Regions from separate parts of the Homo sapiens genome. Here region 2 is linked to region 1. Evidence: promoter capture Hi-C in human tissues and cell types (Jung and others, 2019). All regions are on one chromosome and are shown on one strand. Each heading gives the region's core, a stretch centred on a gene start or on the middle of the fragment in contact. The rest is flanking DNA. Distances are from core to core; before and after follow the strand shown.

Evidence for each region. The method cuts DNA at HindIII sites, captures the fragments that hold promoters and counts their contacts. A contact is called where the count stands out against the background at its distance.
Region 2: a fragment that was not itself captured here is called in contact with the fragment with the promoter of PDYN in region 1 in 1 of the 25 tissues and cell types used here (dorsolateral prefrontal cortex).

The regions. Positions count from the first base shown.
Region 1 is chr20:1,991,132-1,996,387 of GRCh38, forward strand. It overlaps PDYN (prodynorphin), which reads right to left and starts at 2,927. Exons shown (of 4, transcript NM_024411.5): 1 at 2,780-2,927; 2 at 1,453-1,512. The region is part of intron 3 of PDYN-AS1 (PDYN antisense RNA 1); the gene reads left to right. RefSeq lists an enhancer at 2,467-3,297. The HindIII fragment of the contact is 29,966 bases long and covers 1-5,256 here.
Region 2 is chr20:2,422,185-2,427,449 of GRCh38, forward strand. The region is part of intron 10 of TGM6 (transglutaminase 6); the gene reads left to right. Among named protein-coding and RNA genes, the nearest start is that of SNORD119, 38 kb to the right of the region's middle. The HindIII fragment of the contact is 5,615 bases long and covers 577-5,265 here.

The DNA of each region.
Region 1 (5,256 bases), core at 1,677-4,176:
AACACCAATTCTCTCCCTCCTGCTGCTCTCTGAGTCTGCCCTTTGTTCCTAGGGACCAGTGGGCAAGAGACCCTGCCACATAATAACTGCTCAGTAAACCGCTGTCAAGTTAAATCAAATCGTCCAGGAATAGGACAGGGACCAAATGGCAGTTCAAGCCAATGCATCAACAAATTGCCTCGGTGCATATGTCTGCGGCTTGTGGCCAGCCGCTCTGGCCAGTGGGATGACCTGGATGGACTCGGAGGAGCCCCCTGAGCCAAGCCATGTGCCTCATGGACCTAGGCCATCGTCCTCCTGCCAGGAGCATCAGTCTGGATCCAGGCTGGGAGGGACTGATGAGGCTGCGCTTCACAGCACTAACAGACCCCACTCCATTTCGAGGGTCTGATCCTGGGGCTTACCTGGGTGTCTCCAGCCGATGTTCACTGCCTACCACAGTGGCCAGCTCTGTCTCAGTGAAACAGGTTTATCACTTTGTCAGACCCAGCAAGATTAGCCAACATTCATGGGCTGAGATGAGTGAATACAGTGAGAGAAATCAGCTGTGTAACCACACTTTGTCAGGCATGCATTGAAATCGAACCAGTAACTATTGATCTCTCTTACAATGATGGAAGAGATCTAATAAATACGACAATTGTGCAGGAATGACCCAAGGAGGTGGGTAGTGGGAGGTGGATTTAGGGAGTATCGATCAAAAAGAGACTTCATGATCCTGATGCAGCAGATGAAATAAAAAGTCTTCTGCTGGGATGGGGAGGGGAAAGGAGCACCAGCCCCTCAAATGAAAATATTAGACATTAGATCATATCTCCTGGACATAGCACACAGCATGATGGAGTGGGATGATCAGCGATATGATAATCGATGGAGAGAAAGGTCCAACCTCACCACTTCGGAACAGTGAAAATCTGAGCAGTCATGCCAGTATTTATTGAGCACCTACTGAATGCCAGGCATTTTGCTATATCCCATTGGAGACTTGCAATAACCTTAGGAGGTGAATATTATTATTATTCTCATCATACAGGTAAAGAAAGTATGACTCAGAGAGGGACTTCTACTGTTCCAAAGTCACACAGTAAGTGAGTGGTAGGATCTGGGATTTCAGCCCAGCACTGTTTCAGGTGTTGTGAGACACACGTGTAGATGACAGATGGAAAATTCCTGCCTCCCAGGAGTTACTTCAAGAAACCTTAACTCCTTCCACGTGTTTTAAGATCGCAAATCTCTCAAATAGCCCCAGAGCTGATCCCTTTGCCTGCTCCCTTAAAATGTGCTGCCTTCCGCCACATAGCCTTGGGAACCAGTGTGACATCCCCCTCCCAGCTGCCAACAGAGGCATAGGGTTTGCCTGCCACCTATCACACCTCTAGCTCAGCTGGGGCAAAGCAGTGGGCTTGAGATCCCGTCAGTGAACGCAAACCACCCCCAGGCAGCATAACTCACCGGCTTGGGCTGCTGCAACAGCTCCCCCCACGCAGATCTCAAAGCCTGAAGATAAATGACCTGCAAAAATAGAACAAAGGCAAGGTGTGGTGGGACTGGGGGGAGAAGAGGAGGGGAAAAGAGAAGGAAGGTGCCACAGAGGGGTGGGAGTGAGGCCTGGGGTGAGAAAGAACAGAAGAGGATCGACATTCTGCAATGCTTTGCAATGGATCTCGACTGGGATGCCTGTCAAATTAGAAAGGCAAGCCTTGTATATTTCAGCAACCCTTGGAAGAAAGATGATAATGAAGACTTTCAGTCTGTGGGAGGGGAATTGAAATCAGATCCAATAATCGAAAGAGCTTGTTTCCCCTGGGAAGACTGGAGACTTAATTAAGTAATGTTTGTAGAGCTTGGAGGGATTCTTGATACCCAGGAAAAAGTAAGCAGTTGCAGAATTTACTCTTCAACCTTGGAGTAGTCAGCAGGCTTTTTTTTTTTTTTTTTTTTTCCTGAAACTCATCAGCTTTTTGCTAGAATCAAACTTTGAGACTTGGTACTTTTCTGAATATGGGTCTCTGGACCAGTGAGCAAATGGCTTTCCCTTTGAGCCTCCTCCTGGCCTTAGACTCCTCTGGCTGTAGTTAATAGGAGAGCAACAAGTCCTTTCCAAGTAAAATGGACAAGAAAATGCCTGCTAAGCCTGGGCCTCCTGGCTTGTTGTCACTCCCTTTTCCCATTCCCTTCCAACAAAACATCCCCAAACTTCAACCTGTATCAAATTCCATCAAAAGAAGCCGCTCAAACCAGCACCCTGTCAGCAATTAAACACAATCCGAAAAGAATGAAAAGGCCGAACCTGGCCGTACATTGATGTACATGTTATGTGATAAATGCCAGAGCCTTGGATCTCATTAATGTCCTCAAGCCATTGTTCTCTAAGTCCAGTGAGACTCATTGACCTTTAAAATCACCCTGATTAGTGAAACCTCTCACTTCTCCCATCCAGGGTGTCCCATTTTCCCCAGACCCTGGGAATGGCATGGGAACTGCTGTGTGGGAGACTGCAAGAAGGAGACCCTGGAGCTAAAGCCAAAGGGTGGTCCTCTTGGGAGAGAGCTTACCACCTGTTTAAGCCAGGACTGTGCAGAAAGGGAGAGTCCAAAGAGCAGTCTCTCACTGGTCTGGCTTTTGTGAACTAGCCTCCTAACTGTAACCACCTTTGCTAGATAATCAGACCCAAACCTAAAATCCCCAGCCCGAGCTCCCACCATCTCTAGGTCCAGAGGACCAGGAATAAGCAAATAAAACCAAGCGATAGAATTCCAGTGCCCCCTCTGGATGTTACCTGCACTCTGCTTTGTCCCTGGGCAGCTTCTGGCCGAGCAGGTCGGAGGTGGCAGTGGCTGGTCCAAGGCTCAGGGGCCTCCTTGACTCCGGCTTGGGAGGAGGTGCCAAAGAGGCAGCTGTGAACACCACCAAAGCCCCTTCAAATGGCAGTTCTGGTGCCTCTTCCCCCCTTTTATGGACGAGAGCCTCCCCTGTCGCTCAGCCCTTGCTGAGCACAGGCTGCTGGGAGCCAATGGGGAAGTGGCTGAGAGCAGTCAGAGCACAGACCCCCAGGCCCTTCAACTCGAACTCCCTGGGCCTGACACAATAGGCTTCTCTTCGTGACAGGGATGTGGAGGAGGAAGGCAGCCGTGTTGGGGAGGGGGCGGATTCTGGGTGTAGTGCTGTTTGTCACTTGAAATCCGGCCACTTCAGTTTTTGATGCGTTTCCAGGAGAGTGTCACAGGAAAAAGAAGACAGGGAAGGACAGAGACAGAAGAGTTAGAGAAAGAGAGAGAGAGAGAGAGACTCAGAGAGAATCGGAAATCGAGAAAGAGGCAATGTCGGACCTAGGGAGTGATACAAAGGAGGGGAGAAAGAGAAAGAAAAACAGAGACAGAGAGTGGCAGAGATAGGGAGATGGGTAGAAACACAAGGAGAGAGGGACAGAGCAAGAAAAAAGGAAACCAGCCAGGTAGACTGTCAGACTCAAAACACACTGATCCACAGACAGACAGACGTGGAGACAGACAGAGGCTGAGACAGTCTTCTGATCACGGAAGAGAGTCGGAAGATGACAGCCGAGTCAGCAGGCACGTGCATGGCCCGCTGTTGCGTGCCGTGGCAACTCTGTGTTGGCTGGTGCACGCGTGTGCTGGAATCTTTTTGTGTGTACATTTGCCTGCAAACGGCATTCGGCTCTGGTACATGCCTGAGCTGGTGCCAGGCACACTAGCCCTGGCAGAAGCACAGCTCTTCCCCGACAGCCAGGAGCTGCAGTTTAGTTTTCTCTGGCGGCAACACAAAATGAATAGCAGGAAAAACCCCTCAAAATATGGGCTGCAATATGCCTCAGCACACACTCTGGGTGAGGGATGGACCCACCTCAATATACCCTTGGCCTGGACCAGCAGCAGCTTGAAGGTGGCACTCTTCATTGCTACAGAGATCTTCCAGAACATAAGGGTCTTTGAGTTTGGAAGAGAACATGCTTCTCTTCTCAGTCAATAGCAGACAGTTTGTGGTGGGAGGCACAACTATTTCAGAAGTCTGGCAGGGCCGCCCATTTTGTGGGCACCTGGCTGCACCAGGCGGTTAGGTAGAGTTGTCAGATTTAATCCTCATGACCTAGCCAGTTGGTTAATATTATCCCCATCTTGCAGATGAGAAAACAGAGGTTTGAGAGCTGAGAAACTTTCCTAGAGACACACAGCAAGTAAGTCATCCAGCTAGAACCTAAAGTCAGGTCCATCTATCCTCCAAGTTCCTAGAGACACACAGCAAGTAAGTCATCCAGCTAGAACCTAAAGTCAGGTCCATCTACCCTCCAAGTTCCTAGAGACACACAGCAAGTAAGTCATCCAGCTAGAACCTAAAGTCAGGTCCATCTACCCTCCAAGTTTCTGCCCCCTCCCTTGCCTCTCCCCAGGCTTGAATCTGCCCACACTGAGGGGTGGGGTCAGTTTTCTTCTCTGGGACTCAGCCTCTCCATACACAGGCTGTGCTTAATGACATTTAAGATGTGAGTTTGACTCTCAGGTCTGCCACTCACCATCGGAGAGACCTTGGATAAGCTGCCAACTTCAACCTCTGATTGCTCATCTGTACAGTGGGGACAACAGTATCATGGGGCTCTTGGGCTCTTGTGAGGGTGAAAGGAGGATGTGTCAATAGCACTTAAAGCAGCCAGTACGGAGCGGATGTTCTGCTCCCATCATTCCTGATAAACCACATCCCTCCAGCTTTGATGCAGCAGGTTCTCCTGGGCATCCTCCTCTCCCTGCACCTGGCTCGTTAAACTCTCACATAAGGAGGAGGGTAGAAGGGGCTGTTTGCTGAACACCTATTATGCCTCAGACATTTCCACATTCCATCACATCCTCACAACAAGAAAACCTGTGGTGTGGATCTCACAATGCGTCCTCAGATGGAGAAGGCAGCAGAAGTTCAGAGAGGCCCCAGCCACCCAGGGAGGGAGGAAGAACCGAGACCCATCCCTCAGATCCTGAAGCTGCAGCCCCACCACACTCCCCTCTGGACCCACAGCCTCACTTTCCTTCTCCTCCCTGTCTCCTCTTCCCGAGGCAGCACAAGGGGTCTGACTGGCGGGTGCAAGCGACTCCTGGTGCCCTATGTGGAAGCCCCTGCCCAGTTGGTGATAGCCAGTGCGCAGGGTCACCAAGCACTTGGCCACATCTCAGGCTGGCTTCTTGCATGGTGGCCAGAGGACATGAGTGGAGTCTATTCATTGCCACCCTGGGAATCTGGGAGCCCAGG
Region 2 (5,265 bases), core at 2,134-4,633, 430 kb after region 1:
TATCTTTAAGAGTTCTGTAGTTTTGCATTTTACATTTAGGTCAATGATTCAGTTTAGTACATTTTGTAAAGAATGTAAGGCCTGTGTCTAGATTGTTTTTCCCCGTGTGGATATCCAGTTGCTTCAGCACCATTTGTTGACTATCTTTTCTCCATTGTATTTCCTTTGCTACTTTGTCAAAGATCAACTGACTATGTTTGTGCAGGTCTATTTCTGAACTCTCTTCTATTCCATTGATCTAGAGGCATACCTCAGACATATTGCAGGTTTGGTTCCAGACAACCACAATAGTAGGAATATTGCAATAAAGCAAGTCACACAAATGTTTTGGTTTCCCAGTGCATATAAAAGTTATATTTACATTATACTGTAGTCTATAAAGCGTGCAATAGCATTATTTCTTTTAAAAAATATATACACCTTAATTTTAAAATACTTTACGGCTATAAAATGCTAACAATCGGGGCCAGGCACAGGCGGTGCATACCTGTAATCCCAGCACTTTGGGAGGCTGAGGCAGAAGGATCACTTGAGCTCAAGAGCTCAAGACCAACCTGGGCAACATGGTGAAACCCCATCTCTACAAAAAAAATAAATAAAGGAAGAAAACAAAAAAAATTAGCCAGGCATGGTGGTACACACCTGTTGTCTCAGCTACTCAAAAGTGAGGTGGGAGGATCACTTGAGCCCGGGAGTTCAAGGCTGCAGTGAGCTGAGATCCTGCCACTGCACTCCAGCCTGGGTAACAAAGGGAGACTCTTTCTCAAAAAAAAAAAAAAAAAGTTAACCATCTGAACCTTCACTGAGTCATAATCTTTTTGCTGGTGGAAGGTCTTGCCTCAATGTTGATGGCTGCTACCTTAGTTGATAAAGCAGTGGCAGGGTTTGACAGGATTGACTCCAAGTTTGAAAGAAGTTCTACTGTGAGTAAAATGCTATCAAACACCATCGCAACACTACTACCTGACCAGGGTAGTGGTTGCCAAAGGTTGGGGTGGTTGTGGCAATTTCTTAAAATAAGACAACAACGAAATTCGCCACATTGAATGACTTTCTTCCTTTCACGAAGGATTTCTCTGTAGTATGCGATGGTGTTCGATAGCATTTTACTCACAGTAGAACCTCTTTCAAACTTGGAGTCAATCCTCTCAAACCCTGCCACTGCTTTATCAACTAAGTTTATGTAATATTCAAAATCTTTTGTTGCCATTTCAACAACGTTTAGAGCATCTTCACCAGGAGTAGTTTCCATCTTTGAAAAACACTTTCTTTGCTCACACATAAGAAGCAACTCTTCATCTGTTCAAGTTTTACCATCAGATGGAGCAATTCAGTCACATCTTTAGGCTGCACTCTAATTCTCTTGCTGTTTCCACCACATCATCAGTGACTTCCTGCATTGAAATCTTGAATGCCTCAAAGTCATCCATAAGAGTTGGAATCAACTTCTTTCCAACTCCTATTAATGTTGATATTTTTACCTCCTCCCATGAATCATGAATATACTTAATGGTGTCTAGAATGGTGAATCTTTTCCAGAAGGTTTTCAATTGACTTTGCCCAGATCCATTAGAGGAATCACTATCTATGGCAGCTATGGCTTTATGAAATGTATTTCTTAAATAAAAAGACTTGAAAGTTAAAATTACTCATTGATTCATGGTCTGCAGAATGAATGTTAACAGGCATGAAAATAACATTAATCTCATTGTACACCTCCATCAGAGTTCTTGAGTGACTAGGTGCATTGTCAATGAGCAGTAATACTTTGACAAGAATCTTCTTTTCTGATCAGTAGGTCTCAACAGTTGGCCTAAAATATTCAGTAAACCATGCTATAAACAGATGTGCTATCATCCTGGCTTCGTTGTTCCTTTATGGACCACAGGCATAGTAGATTTAGCATAATTCTTAAGGGCCCTAGGATTTAGAAATTTAAATGAGCATTGGCTTCAACTTAAAGTCACCAGCTGCATTAGCTCCTTAATGCACAGAGTCAGCCTCTCCTTTGAAACTTTGAAGCCAGGCATTGACTTCTGTCCCGCTATGAAAGTCCTAGATGGCATCTTCTTCCAATATAAAGCTATTTTTTCTACATTGAAAATGTGTTGTTTTATGTAGCCATCTTCACCAATGATCTTAGCTAGAGTCTCTGCATAACTTGCTGTTGCTTCTACATCAGCACTTGTTGCTTCAGCTTGCACTTTTATGTTATAGAGATGGCGTCTTTCCTTAAACCTTATGAACCAACCTGTGCTAGCTTCAAACTTGTCTTCTGTAGCTTCCTAACATCTCTCAATCCTTATAGAATTGAAGAGAATCAGGGCCTTGCTCTGGATTAGGCTTTGGCTTAATGGAATGTTATGGCTGGTGTGATCTTATATGGAGATCACTAAAACTTTCTCCATATTAGCAATAAGGCTATTTTGCTTTCTTATCATTCCTATGTCACTTTTAGTTTCCTTCAAGAGTAGCACTTTTAATTTCCTTCAAGAACTTTCCCTTTGCATTCAAAACCTTGCTGTTTGGCACAAGAGGCCTAGCTTTTGGCCCATCTTGGCTTTCTATGTGCCTTCCTCACTAAGCTTAATCATTTCTAGCTTTTGACTTAAAGTGAGAGACATGTAACTCTCATTAACTTGAACACCTAGAGGCCATTGTAGGTTTATTAATTGGCCTAATTTCAATATTATTGTGTATCCGGGAATAGGAAGGCCCAAGGACAGGGAGAGAGATAGGGAAATGGCCAGTCGGTGGAGCAGTCAGAACTCACATGACATTTTTTAATTAAGTTCAACATCTTACAGGGCATGGTTTGTGGTGCTAACAAACAGTTACAATAGTAGCCTCAAAGATCACTGATCAAGGGCTGGGCACAGGGGCTCATATATGTAATCCCAATCCCATTCACTTTTGGAGGCCAAAGTGAGAGAACTGCTTGAACCTAGGAGTTTGAGACCAGCTTGGGCAACACAGCAATACCCCATCTCTACAAAAAATTAAAATAAAAAATACCTGCTGGGTGTGGTGGCATGCTCCCATAGTCCTAGCTACCTGGAGGCTGAGGCAGGAGGATTGCTTGAGCCCAAGAGCTGGAAGTTTGCAGTGAGCTATGATCACACCACTGCACTTACAGCCTGGGTGACAGAGCAAGACCTTGTCTTAAAGAAAAAAAAAAAAAGATCACTGATCATAGAAGCAAACACATGCTCTTGGAAAAATGGCTCTTATAGAGTTGCCTGACTCAGGGTTGCCACAAAACTTCAATTTGTAAAAAATGCAATATCTGCAAAGTACAATAAAATGAAGCACAGTAAAATAAGGTATGCCTGTCTTTGTCCATTCTTTCACTAATACCACACTGTCTTGATGACTGTACCTTTATAGTAAATCTTAAAGGTACCTGAAGTCAGGTAGTGCCAGTCCTCTAACTTTGTTCCTCTCCTTCAATAATGTACAATTGTACAATTGTACTGACTACTCTGGGTCTTTTGCCTCTTGACATAAACTTTTTTATGTCATGGTTCTTTAAAAAAATCTTAATTGATATATATTAGTAATACATATTTTGTGGGTACACATATTTTGATACATGTATAGAATGTGTAACAATCGAATCAGGGTAATTGGGATATCCATCACCTTATACATTTATCTGTATCTTTTCTTCGTGTTCGAAACTATACAATTTATTCTAGCTATTTAGAAAGGTACCATAAATCATTATTAACTATAATTTCCCTACTGTGTTATGAAATATTAGAACTTATTCTTTCTAACTATCTTGTACCCATTATCCAACTTCTCTTCATTCCTGCCTCCCACCCACACATAAAGTTTGGAATCAGTTTGTCAATATCCACAAAATAACTTCTTCAGATTGCATTGAATCTATAGATCAAGCTAGGAAAAATTGACATTTTGACAATATTGAGCCTTTCTATCCATGAACATGGAATATCTCTCCATTTATTTAGTTTTTTGATTTCTTTCATCAGAGTTTTACAGTTCTTCTTGTGTAGATCTTGTACATATTTTGTTAAATTAATGCCTAAGTGTTCCATTTTTGGTGGTGCTAACATAAGTGGTATTATGTTTTTAATTTTAATTTCCAATTGTTCATTGCTGGTATATAGGAAAATGATTGACTTCTGTATATTAGTAATCTTATACCCTGTAACCTTGCTATTACCACTCATAAGTTCCAGGATTTTTTGTTTGTTGTTGTTGACAATTCTTTTGGATTTTCTACATAAACAATTATATCATTTGTGAACAAAGACTGTTTTATTTCTTCCTTCCCAATCTGTATACATTTTATTTCCTTGTTTTATCTTATTGCATTAGCAAAGACTTCCAATATGATGTTGAAAAGGAATAGTAAGAGGGGACATCCTTGCCTTGTTCCTAATCATCATGGGAAAGCTTCCAGTTTGTCACCAATAAGGACAATGTTTGCTGTAGGTTTTTTGTAGATGTTCTTTATCAAGTTGAGTAAATTCCTCCTCTATTCCTAGTTTGCTGAGAGCTTTATCAGGAATGGGTGTTGGATTTTATCAAATTCTTTTTCTGCATCTATTGATATGATCATGTTATTTTTTCCTGTTGATTTGATGGACTATATTAATTGACCTTTAATATTGACCCAGCCTTACATGCCTAGAATAAATCCCACTTGATCATAGCATGTAATTTTTTATACATTGTTAATTCAATTTACCAATATTTTGTGGGAATTTTTGCATCTATGTTCATATTGGTCTGTAGTTTTGTTTTTCTTGCAATGTCTTTGTCTGGTTTTTGGCATTAAGGTAATGCTGGCCTCATAGAATGAATCAGGAAGTATTTCTCTGCTTCCATTTTCTGGAAGAGATTGTAGAGAATTGCTATAATTTTTTTTTCTTAAATTCTTGGTATAATTCACCAGTGAACCCATCTGGGATTAATGTGTTCTGGTTTGGAAGGTTATTAAGTACTGATTCCATTTTTTAGTAGATATAGGCCTATTCATGTTGTCTGTTTCTTCTTATGTGAATTTTAGCAGATTTTTTTCTTTCAAGAACTGGTCCCTTTTATCTGGATTATCAAACCTGTGGGCATAAAGTTGTTCATAATATTCCTTTACTCTCTGTTTTTTTCCTAACTCCCCAAACTTGTTACCTTTACTATCCTTTTAATGTCCATGGAATCTGTAGAGATGTCCTCTCTTGCATTTATCATATTAGTAACTTGTGCCTTCTCTCTTTTTTTTCTGAGTTAGCCTTG